Regions from separate parts of the Homo sapiens genome. Here region 2 is linked to region 1. The links are contacts of gene promoters, found by promoter capture Hi-C in blood cells and fetal thymus (Javierre and others, 2016). All regions are on one chromosome and are shown on one strand. The core of a region is centred on a gene start or on the middle of the fragment in contact, and the rest is flanking DNA. Distances in the headings are between cores, read along the strand shown. Region 1 holds the start of WEE2 (WEE2 oocyte meiosis inhibiting kinase). Region 2 overlaps MGAM2 (maltase-glucoamylase 2 (putative)).

Evidence for each region. Contacts are between HindIII fragments. The CHiCAGO score rates a contact against its expected background, and 5 or more counts as called.
Region 2: a contact is called between a fragment that was not itself captured here and the fragment with the promoter of WEE2 in region 1, in 2 of 17 cell types (M1 macrophages and M0 macrophages). The highest score is 7.6, in M1 macrophages.

What each region holds. Positions count from the first base shown.
Region 1 is chr7:141,704,842-141,710,051 of GRCh38, forward strand. WEE2 (WEE2 oocyte meiosis inhibiting kinase) reads left to right here and starts at 3,512. Exons shown (of 12, transcript NM_001105558.1): 1 at 3,512-4,259. The coding sequence starts at 3,918. It overlaps WEE2-AS1 (WEE2 antisense RNA 1), which reads right to left. Exons shown (of 4, transcript NR_199841.1): 4 at 1-916. The HindIII fragment of the contact is 6,148 bases long and covers 3,257-5,210 here.
Region 2 is chr7:142,193,660-142,199,039 of GRCh38, forward strand. MGAM2 (maltase-glucoamylase 2 (putative)) reads left to right here. Exons shown (of 48, transcript NM_001293626.2): 38 at 2,495-2,628; 39 at 2,906-2,940; 40 at 3,041-3,157; 41 at 3,741-3,889; 42 at 3,985-4,069; 43 at 4,480-4,536; 44 at 4,956-5,080. Among named protein-coding and RNA genes, the nearest start is that of PRSS58, 62 kb to the right of the region's middle. RefSeq lists an enhancer at 2,432-3,631. The HindIII fragment of the contact is 5,144 bases long and covers 1-4,242 here.

The DNA of each region.
Region 1 (5,210 bases), core at 2,262-4,761:
AAAAGAAAAAGCATACAATGTTAAAGCTGGCAGGACCTTAAAGACACTGCCTAGCCCTCTCACTCAGCAGTGAGTCGTAGATGATTCCTCCAGATCTTGACGAGGCCCACAGGCCCTTGTTTAAGAACGTCGCTTGCTGCTTTGCTGCTTCTATGGGGCACATTCTGGTGATAAAGGCCAGCTGTTTTTCTCCACCAGCATGGAGTTCTCTCAACTTTGTTTCTGGTTTTTAGAGTCCCTGGCCAATTGTCTGGAGACCCAGAGAGCCACTGTTAGTCTAAGGTCGCTTCATAAATAAGGGTAATCCCGGTCCTGGATTCTGCCAGACTCCTAGAAAGACTGACAGTGAAAGTGTCATTTCTTGCTTGGGAAACCATACTTCACAATGGTTTTCAATAGGGCAGACCCATTAAATACATAAGAATCCAACAACACTCTTTTTTCAGAGTCGGAATGACTCAGTTCTAATTCAGTCTTAAATAAATAATGTGCTGGACCTTTACTTAGGCCTGTTTAAGTGTTTTTTACAATTCTCTCTCCTGACTTGGGGGACAATTAGGCCAGCATGTTCTTCCTTGGAGCGACAAACTCTCAAATAGCTCATTTTCCATGGCCTTAGCTTTACTTTGACAAAGGAACAGTCTAACCAGGAAGGTGAATAAAAGTTTCCACGTCTTGCAAATTTGAATAGATAGATTTTCCTGCTTCTGTTCTTCCCATCAACATTTCATAGGCCTCAGAACCAAGTCTGGTCAGAGTGGAGTCTAGGTGCTTCCTTATCACTCAGCAGTGTGTCTGCAAGGGGAGAACTTCCCTCAAGCACACAGTTGAGGGAACTCAGCCCTGAGATGCAAGGCTGCCCGCTTCTTGCACATCTTACTCCTGGGAACTTCGCTTTCCCCCTGTGCAGCAACTCCTGACACATTAAGAAAAAAATTCAAATTTTTTTTAAAAAGTCAAATATGGAGTATTTTAAACATGATTGAAATATATTAATTTATTTCCCCAAATTCATCCAAAAACAATTTATTGAACACCTACTATATGTTAGGCATTAAGGGGGAAACCCTCCCCTTTTCCTCTTATTGCCACAGATTACATGGGTCCCCCTTTTGACACATCATCTCAACTATCACCTGAAGCTTTATGCTGGGATGGATGCCTGTGGGATTAACATATACTGAAGCAGAGATGAAATTTTTCATAATGGAAAGAGGCTAAAAATGAAGAAAAGGCTACAATGTGACCAAAAAAATAGTGAGGCCATGGGCCAGAGGCCATAGGTAGCACCTCTAGGGATTCCCTTGGGTCATCCAGATCAGCAACTATGCAATTCTTATTATTTAGTTGTCCAAATTTGGGATATCTTTTTTGTACTCATTGTTACACCTTTCTTATTCTGAAGACTTAGCCACAATCATTATCTTCTGAGTAACAATACATGAAAAGGTGAATGGTGCAAGTTTCTAACAGTATTACTGCCGATAACATAAGACCTCAACCATTGCAATGGCATAGCTGCCTCCCTAGGCAAACAATGTAGTCATAAATAAGGGTAATCAAGAATTATAGCAAGGGAGAGAGAAAAAGCAGCAGGTGATAGAAAAAAAAAAAGAAAACCTGGTCTACTTGGGTAATACCTAATAAACCAGCCCCTGTGCCCTGTCTACAGGACAATAATATAGCCAGTGTTTTGAGTCAGTCCTGTTTTACTGAGAGCAAAGCCAGCCTCTAGCTGCCTGGAGAGGCAGGAATGACAAGCCATGGCATGTGAGGGGAAATTCATCAACACCAAGGCTATAGAAAAGAAATCTATCATCTGGCTTGCTGATTTGTAAACAAGACACTCCTAGGCTGAGAATCCCAGTTGATAATAATTGCATTACTGGTAACCTATGAGTTCTCCTTTTTCTTTGATGATTCTGTTTTTACTGGCCCCTGTAGGATACTGAATCTCTGACAAAGGTGGGCAGTGAGTTACTGCATTTTGTGAGCAATATTTTACCCCCTGTTGAATTATCTGGGATAGTTTGTGTGGGTGGGAGGCTGTAGGGAAGGGCCAAGGAAGGATGAATTGGTGTGCCCACCTACAAAGGGCTGGAGCATGAGAAGGCTTTGAGCTGAAAAAACACTTTGAAGTCTCCCCAGTTAGTTTTCATTTGGATTACCCTCCTCAGGAGTTCTGGCTGGGAATGGGGAAGGAATTAGGAGAAAGTGGTGGAGAGATCTGTGAAAAGAGGGAAATGGAAGAGGGGTGACAGGTAGCAAAGACTATAAAGAGAAGGGAAATAACATTTGTTTCAAACTCATCAAGCTGGCCTTGGTTCCTGTCTCTCTTTGGGCCCATGTTTATCATGTAAATAATTCCCTATTTGCAGTCCCTCTGAAGCCTCCTTGAGGGGCATGAGTGTATCATTTTCCTTTTTCATGGACTGCCTCTCACATAGTTTTCTTCTATAATGTGATATCAGTGAGGCCTTTTTCCTTTGATATACCTATACATTGTGTAATGATTACCAAAAATTTACCACACCCATATGCACCCATGCTGTACATCAGGTCCCCAGAATTGTTCATCTTATACCTGAAAGTGTGTACCCTTTGATCAGCATCTCCCCATTTCCCCTGCCTTTCCAGATCCTGGTAACCACCATTCTACTCCCTCCCTCTAGGAGATCAACTGTTTTTGATTCCACATATAAGTAAGATCATGTAGTATCTGTCTTTCTGTGCCTGGCTTATTTCACTTAATATCCCCCTGGTTCATCCATGTTATCACAAATGGCAGCCTTTCCTTTTTTATGACTGAGTAATATTCTATTGTGTGTGTGTGTGTGTGTGTGTGTGTGTGTGTGTGTGTATTCACCACATTTTCTTTATTCATCTGTCCATGGCTATTTAGGTGGTTTCCATATCTTGGCTGTTGAGGATAATGCTGCAATGAATATGGGTGTGTTGGTATTTTTTTGAGATAGTGATTTTATTTCCTTTGGCTATATAACTGGAAGAGAAGAGGGACAGCTTGATTGTATAATAGTTGTTTTTTTCTTCAAAGAGTTTTCCATCCTTCTCATAGGGGCTTCTCTGAGAAAGAAATTAAATAATGTGTACTAAAGATATTAAAAAGCATTTTACAATATAAGGCATTTTTGGCAGAAGCCATTGCTGTTTTCCAGTGATCAATATCTGTTTCTATGGTTTGTTGATCTTTCTAGCCTTTCTTTTGTCAGTTTAAATTTTTGTTCAATTCCCTAGAAGCTTTAACTGCTAACAGCTAACAGCTGCAGGAGGGAGATGCCTGAATTAGGGCAGGTGTGTTTGGCACAGAGCTAAGCTGTGTCTCTGTCAGGGATACAAACTCCAGTCAAGATATGTTAGAGGCTGTTTAAGGATCATTATGATAGCCAGGTGATGCTAAATTGTAATTACCTGCTGTTAGCTATTGGGTGGGTGGGGAGGAGAAGGGAGGAGAGGGTGATATTTATAAATGGCAGGTGTAAGGAGTGAAAATAATTTCTTTTCAATATTAGCTTATTCCCAAATTGGCTAATGGGTATTTTTAAAGCCATGCTAAATTAAAGGAATTCAATTTTCTCACTAGTATTTGGTAACACATGGGAGACTATGTGTCATATCCAGAAGAGTTCTGTACATGAACTGCATTTAATTGCTCCGAGAGTCACTGGAGCTTTCTTTAATCAGAATGGAAATCAGGATAAGCTGAGGTCTTATAGATTGGTGGTACTTAAGGCAGAAAATTAACACCGTGTTTTGTAGCTGTTAGTTGGTAGAGGGAAATTCAGGCTACCGTCGCGAAACCTGCAGGTTAAGTTATTTTCTCCTCCCTGCTTCTGTAGGTTCACAGCGTTCCCTTCTGATAGAGCTTTTTGTCTGTGTTGTAAAGCTCTTTGGCTGAGATGGATGACAAAGATATTGACAAAGAACTAAGGCAGAAATTAAACTTTTCCTATTGTGAGGAGACTGAGATTGAAGGGCAGAAGAAAGTAGAAGAAAGCAGGGAGGCTTCGAGCCAAACCCCAGAGAAGGGTGAAGTGCAGGATTCAGAGGCAAAGGGTACACCACCTTGGACTCCCCTTAGCAACGTGCATGAGCTCGACACATCTTCGGAAAAAGACAAAGAAAGTCCAGATCAGATTTTGAGGACTCCAGTGTCACACCCTCTCAAATGTCCTGAGACACCAGCCCAACCAGACAGCAGGAGCAAGCTGCTGCCCAGTGACAGCCCCTCTACTCCCAAAGTAAGTAAGGGGTGGGGGAAAAAGGGACGCAGGTCGCCAAGCTCTGCTTTCCTGTAGTTTAGCTGATAGAGTGGATTCATGTGTGTATGACAGTCACCTCCAGGCTGTGTATATCCTCAATTACACATTTATTGATGAAAATGAAGAAATTAAAATTACCAGAAAATGGACAGAATTAAATGGTTTGCCAGTTGTCTTCTCAAAACCACTGGTGCCAGTAACTGTTGGCTATTGGCCACAAACAAATCTTGGGTAGAAAAAAGTCCCTAGTTAAAGAATATTGGAACTGGAAGGAATATTGAGATTTAGAGCTCCAGCTGTGCAGTTTACATATGAGAAAATGAAGGGCCCAAGACAGAAACTGTCTCACAGCTCAGCCAATGTTACAGACAGGACTAGAAACCTGATCTTTTTGGCCTAGTCTATTGTTCTTTCCATTACGCCAACTGGCTCTATTTTTGTGTGATTATTTACTAATACTTTCTAATATAAGAACGTCCACACTCACTGTTTGAACATAGTCATATCTCTTTGCTGCTGCTCCTCCCAGAAACAACTCCTCTCCCCTCCTTGGTCTAATAGAAGAACCTCCAGGTTCTTCTAGTATATGTCAGCAAAGAGGAAACTTGTTGATACTTCTTCATAAGCTGAGGATGGCAAATAAGCAAGAGTCCCTAGTAGCATATTCCTTTATTCTTGTTGTGATTGGTGTCCTGTTGCATCGTTCATGTTATTAAAGCCATAGTTGGGGCAGGGTTGCCTCTAATCAACTCTGGTGCCATGGTGTGTGAGTCCTAGGATTGGTATTAGCTCGGCTTCCTGCTGGTTCAGCCTGAGGCACTTAAGATCATCATAATAACATCTGTGATCCTGACTGCGACACAGTTGCTATCAGCAGGTCTCTTTAGTACCTGCTGGGTGTGGGTACCATGTATACCAGGAAATTCTAAG
Region 2 (5,380 bases), core at 421-2,920, 490 kb after region 1:
ACCTAGATTCCAGATATTTATGCATTTACCTCTCTGGCCACAGTTCCACAAACTCCTTTGCAGGTTTCCCTTCCCAGTCTTTCCAAGCCTATGCTCCTTCCACACCTGGGTTCAGTCATCTTTTTTTTTCTTCACACCATGTAGCTTTTCCCTTGGATAAGCACAAACACATACTACTGGCTTTAAATACACTCTGGATTCAGATGGCCCCCAAATCTTTGTTCCCAACCCAAACCTCTCTTGAGCCTCAAACCTAGAATTGCCCATAGCTGTCTCATTTATGATGTCCCATAGGCACTTCAAATCTAATACTTAAAATGTTGAACTATTTATCTCTCCCTTAAACCTGTCCTCCTGCAGTCTTTTCTTTCTTCTTCTTTTTTTTTTTTTTAAGATGGAGTCTCGCTCTGTCACCCAGGCTGGAGTGCAGTGGCACGATTTCGACTCACTGCAACCTCCATCTCCTGGGTTCAAGCAATTCTCCTGCCTCAGCCTCCCTAGTAGCTGCAATTAGAGTTGCATGCCACCATGCCCAGCTAATTTTGCATTTTTATTAAAGACAGGGTTTTGCCATGTTGGCCAGGCTAGTCTCGAACTGCTGACTTCAGGTGATCCATCTGCCTGGGCCTCCCAAAGAGTTGGGAATACAGGCGTGAGCCACTGCGCCCGGCCCCTCCAGCATTCTTTATTTTAGTGAAAGGAACCAAGTTTAACTAGTCATTAGGTCATCCTAGATTCTCTTTCTTTTCCTGCTTTCAGTTGGTGACTCAGTTCTTTGCATCAGTCACTACTCTATCTTCCTGCCTTATTCCAGGCCTTCATTATCTCTCATCTAGACTGTTATAAAAATCTAAGCTATCCTCACCCCCATTTCTTTATCACACATACATACATATGCATTCTTCCAATTTGTGTATGGTTAAATCTATACCTTTTACTTCATTATGTTTTGTCCATTGTTTTTATTTGAAATTCCTTTCTCTTGTAGAAATCAGGTGGTTTATATATTCTTTCAGTTTTAATAGAACATGTGTGTATGTGTGTGTGTGTGTGTGTGTGTGTGTGTGTGTATTTCCATTCATTTTTGGATTTGTTTTGGTGTGAAAAATTGGAAATAACCCAAATGGATTAGTTTACACAACAGTAGTCAGCTACTTTTCCTGACATCATTTATTGACTAATTCATCTGTGTCTATTGATCTGTGATGCTTTTTTAAGCAAATACTTGGATTGTATACATACTAGGATCTATTAGTAGACTTTCTCTTTTGTTCAGTTGATTTTTCCCTCACACAGTTGTTGTTATTTTCTAAGGGTGCGTGCAGATGATCCATCTTCCACTGAAAGATAAACATCTTTTATGTATATTTGCCTCTGTGTGCAAAACATGTCTCGCTTTTTGAGGTACAGAAAAGCAGAGTGAATATTTCCAAAATGCTGTAGCTTTTATTTGGATCCCAGATCTGCCTCCTTATTCTTTTTTTCCCTCTTCCCCTGTCTGCCATGTGACTACAGACACACGTGCACCACCCTGCCCAGCTAATTTTATTTTTTTGTAGAGACAGGGTCTCAATGTGTTGCCTAGGCTGGTCTTGAACTTCTGGCCTCAAGCAGTCCTTCTGCCTTGGCCTCCCAAGGTGCTGGGATTACATGTGTGAGTTTCTGTGCCTGGCCTCCTTTTTACTCTTTTTTTTTTTTTTTTTTTTTTTTTTTTGAGACAGAGTCTTGCTCTATCACCTAGGCTGAAGGGCAGTGGCACGATCTCAGCTCACTGCAACCTCCATCTCCTCAGGTTCAAGTGATTCTCCTACCTCAGCCTCCTGGGTAGCTGGGATTAGAGGTATGCACACCACACCCGGCTAATTTTTTTTTTTTTTAGTAGAGACAGGGTTTCACCATGTTGGCCAGGCTGGTCTTGAATTCCTGACCTCAAGTGATCCACCCACCTTGACCTCCCAAAATGCTGGGATTACAGGTGTGAGCCACCACACCCAGACCTCTTTACCCTTTAAATGACCTTTGGTAAGCATTTTAAAGATCATCTTATTTTGTCCAGCTCACTATTTTCAGGCGAATGCCTTTCTAACTTCTCTGAATCTTAGCTTCCTAACAGTAAAAGGAGTGCAAGGAAACCTTTTCATGATGTTATGAGACACCACATAGGAAAGTGACCGGTATAATACTGGAATAGAGGAATTGTTCCATAAATAGCTATATTACGCCTCACTCCCACCCCTTTCTCTTACTCCAGGGTGATAGTTAATTAACCAGATTTTTCAAAAATGAAACCCACATTCTACGTGCAGATATACCTCTAGTCTTGCTGTGAAGTTTGTTGGGATCTTTAGCATGGCTTTGAGACAGCAGATTCTTTCAGGGAAGAAGTTATCTGACTCGGACCGAAGTACCCTCACCCTCTCATGCTCCAAGCTGCAGTTATTCTCTGTAAAGGAGTTTGTTTCTTCAACTCACCTCTTTATTCCCCTCCCACCAGAGCTGTGCAGGAGGTGACAGGACAGCGAGGGGTCATCATCACCCGCTCCACATTTCCCTCTTCTGGACGCTGGGGAGGACACCGGTTGGGAAACAACACAGCTGCATGGGACCAGCTGGGGAAATCTATCATTGGTGTGTGGGCTCATTCCCAGGGGCCTGTGCTGGCAGGGAGGGCACTGGAGTTTGTGCTGTTCAACAGCACTGGTTATGTCTCTATCATCATCTAGGTGGGTGGTAAAATTAACAAGAACTGAGTTCTCTCTGGGCGTGGATTTTAATTTACACCCATCTTTTAATATTTTCATCATGGTCCAGGGCTTTCTAATGGGGTAAGGAAAAATCAGGCCAAGCCTTCACTCTCCTCCCAAAGTGCTCCTTCCTCCAACACAGCTGTGTCTTCTCTTTGCAGGCATGATGGAGTTCAGTCTCTTTGGAATACCTTATGTAAGTCACATTCAGACCATTACTAATTGCCCAGTCAGATTTTAGTGAGTCAGCGCCTCATGAAATTCCCACCTCATGCTCTCATTATGCATCTTCTCAGACAGGAGCAGATATCTGTGGGTTCTTTGGAGATGCTGAATATGAGATGTGTGTTCGCTGGATGCAACTGGGGGCATTTTATCCATTTTCCAGAAACCACAACAACATCGGGACAAGGGTGAGGCAGTAGTTCGTGCTCCAGGTGTTGTGTACCCTCAAATCATAACTTCTTTTTAACCCCCAGGACTATTATACTCATTTCCTGAGAAAAATCAAAAAACATCACCAGAATCTTAATTTCTTGGAAAATCCACAGAGTTCAGAACTCTGGAATTATCAGTAATTTTTAGAAATATACCTTTTCTCATCTCCTGGAGAATTACTACCCATGAGGAAAGGTTTTTATAGTTCCACATGGGGCTAAAATGAAAGAAGATCCCTTTGCTTTTAAGAATATTGAATTTGTATTTTACTCAAATTCATCGAAGATATGTTGGTGCTGCACGGAAACCTCTCTCTGTACACATGTAGAGGGCCAGAGCTGGACCTATTCCAGGGACTTAGGAATCAGTGATAAAGAGGAGAAAGCAAGAAATTCTAATTTTGTAGGGTGGCAGAGATGGGGGAAAGGGTAGGCCAGGAATGAAAGGGTAAGTGGCTTGTAACCTACATTTTGAATAAATGCCCATTGATTCTTTTCTGATGCCACTGGGATGGAATGAAGAAGAGGTGATCCATTATATGCTTCTTTATCCTTACAGAGACAAGATCCTGTGGCCTGGAATTCAACCTTTGAGATGTTGTCCAGAAAAGTCCTAGAGACCAGATATACCCTGCTTCCTTATCTCTATACTCTGATGCATAAAGCTCACGTTGAGGGCAGCACAGTTGTCCGGCCCCTTCTCCATGAGTGAGTACAGCCTCTTTCCCCAAGCATGTCTTGCAAATAATCCTCTGTAGCAGTCATAAGAGGATAGGTGAATTTTTCCTGTTTATTTTTTTAAGGTTTACGGATGACAGGACAACATGGGATATAGACCGTCAGTTCATGTTGGGCCCTGCTATCTTAATCAGCCCTGTGTTGGAAACTGTGAGTTCTTCATTGTAGGTCAGAAAACCTTCAATCACATGATCTAAAATCATGGGAAAAGCATTTTAAAGATCATCTTATTTTGTCCAGCTCACTATTTTCAGGCGAATGCCTTTCTAGAACATCTACAGGAGATCTTTTTCTTTTATTTAAAAGATCTCTCTGTTAATGAAAGCTTTACTACACTGACTGATTTCTCATTTTAAAATTTTGTCATTTACTTTTTAAAAATAGTTTTTTCTGTAGTTCTGAGGAATAATTTTTCAGGATTTTTCTTAATAAAATCCCTCAAATTATTGCAATCACTAATACAATTTTCATTTTTTATCTTAATTCTACAGTGTTTTGAAAATGAAAATGAAAAATATTTTTTGAAATATTCATAATGACATGTCAATTTTATGTTTCAGAGCACATTTGAGATCTCTGCTTATTTTCCGAGAGCCCGTTGGTATGACTATAGCACGGTAAGAACTAATATATTTGTGAAGAACCAGTTTGGTCTATGCAGGGTGGAGAGGTGGATAGAGCCTTCTATTTCCAAGCACATATTTCCTAAGGCAATAATTTTGACCTTTTTAGCCTTGGCAAGGCTTGTTTAAATGAAAGCATGTATAAGAGCATAGACGAAATCTAAGCACCTACATCTCATTGAAGCTCCCCCCTCACCCTTGCCCTTGCCTCTCAACTTTTCTGGAGAAACAAAGACAAGTCTAGATTTTCAGTCTTAAGCAAAACTGAAAGATCAGAGATTTTCTCTTTAGGTTTGCAGTCTTTTGCTGACTTTCTAACATGCTTCCCAGGAAAGGAAGGACTTGTAATTAAAACATGCTCTCATTTAATATATTTATCTCTCGCCATTTTTTGCCTGTATTCTCCTTTCTAGGGAACTAGCAGCACATCAACAGGTCAGAGGAAAATCCTGAAGGCTCCCCTTGACCACATCAACCTTCATGTCAGAGGAGGCTACATCCTGCCCTGGCAAGAGCCTGCTATGAACACTCACTCCAGGTGAGGAGAAGAGGCAATGTCTAACAGCCTCTTGCTATACCGTAATGAGGAAGCCTTACAGGAGGCTGTCCCACCTTCGCCAGGGATATGTGGATTATAAACTAAATTGCCAAACAGCTTTACTGGTCAGATCCTGTGAGTGCTTTCTGAGTGGGACTCGGAGGAAGATGAGTTCATAAAGTTAGTCTTAGGGATATATATACACACATATATTTTTGTCTGTAGTGCTGTATCAAAGGCAAAAATTTTCCTGAAGGCAGAAAAATGTTTCTCTTTCCACACTGTTAAAAAGGAATAGGG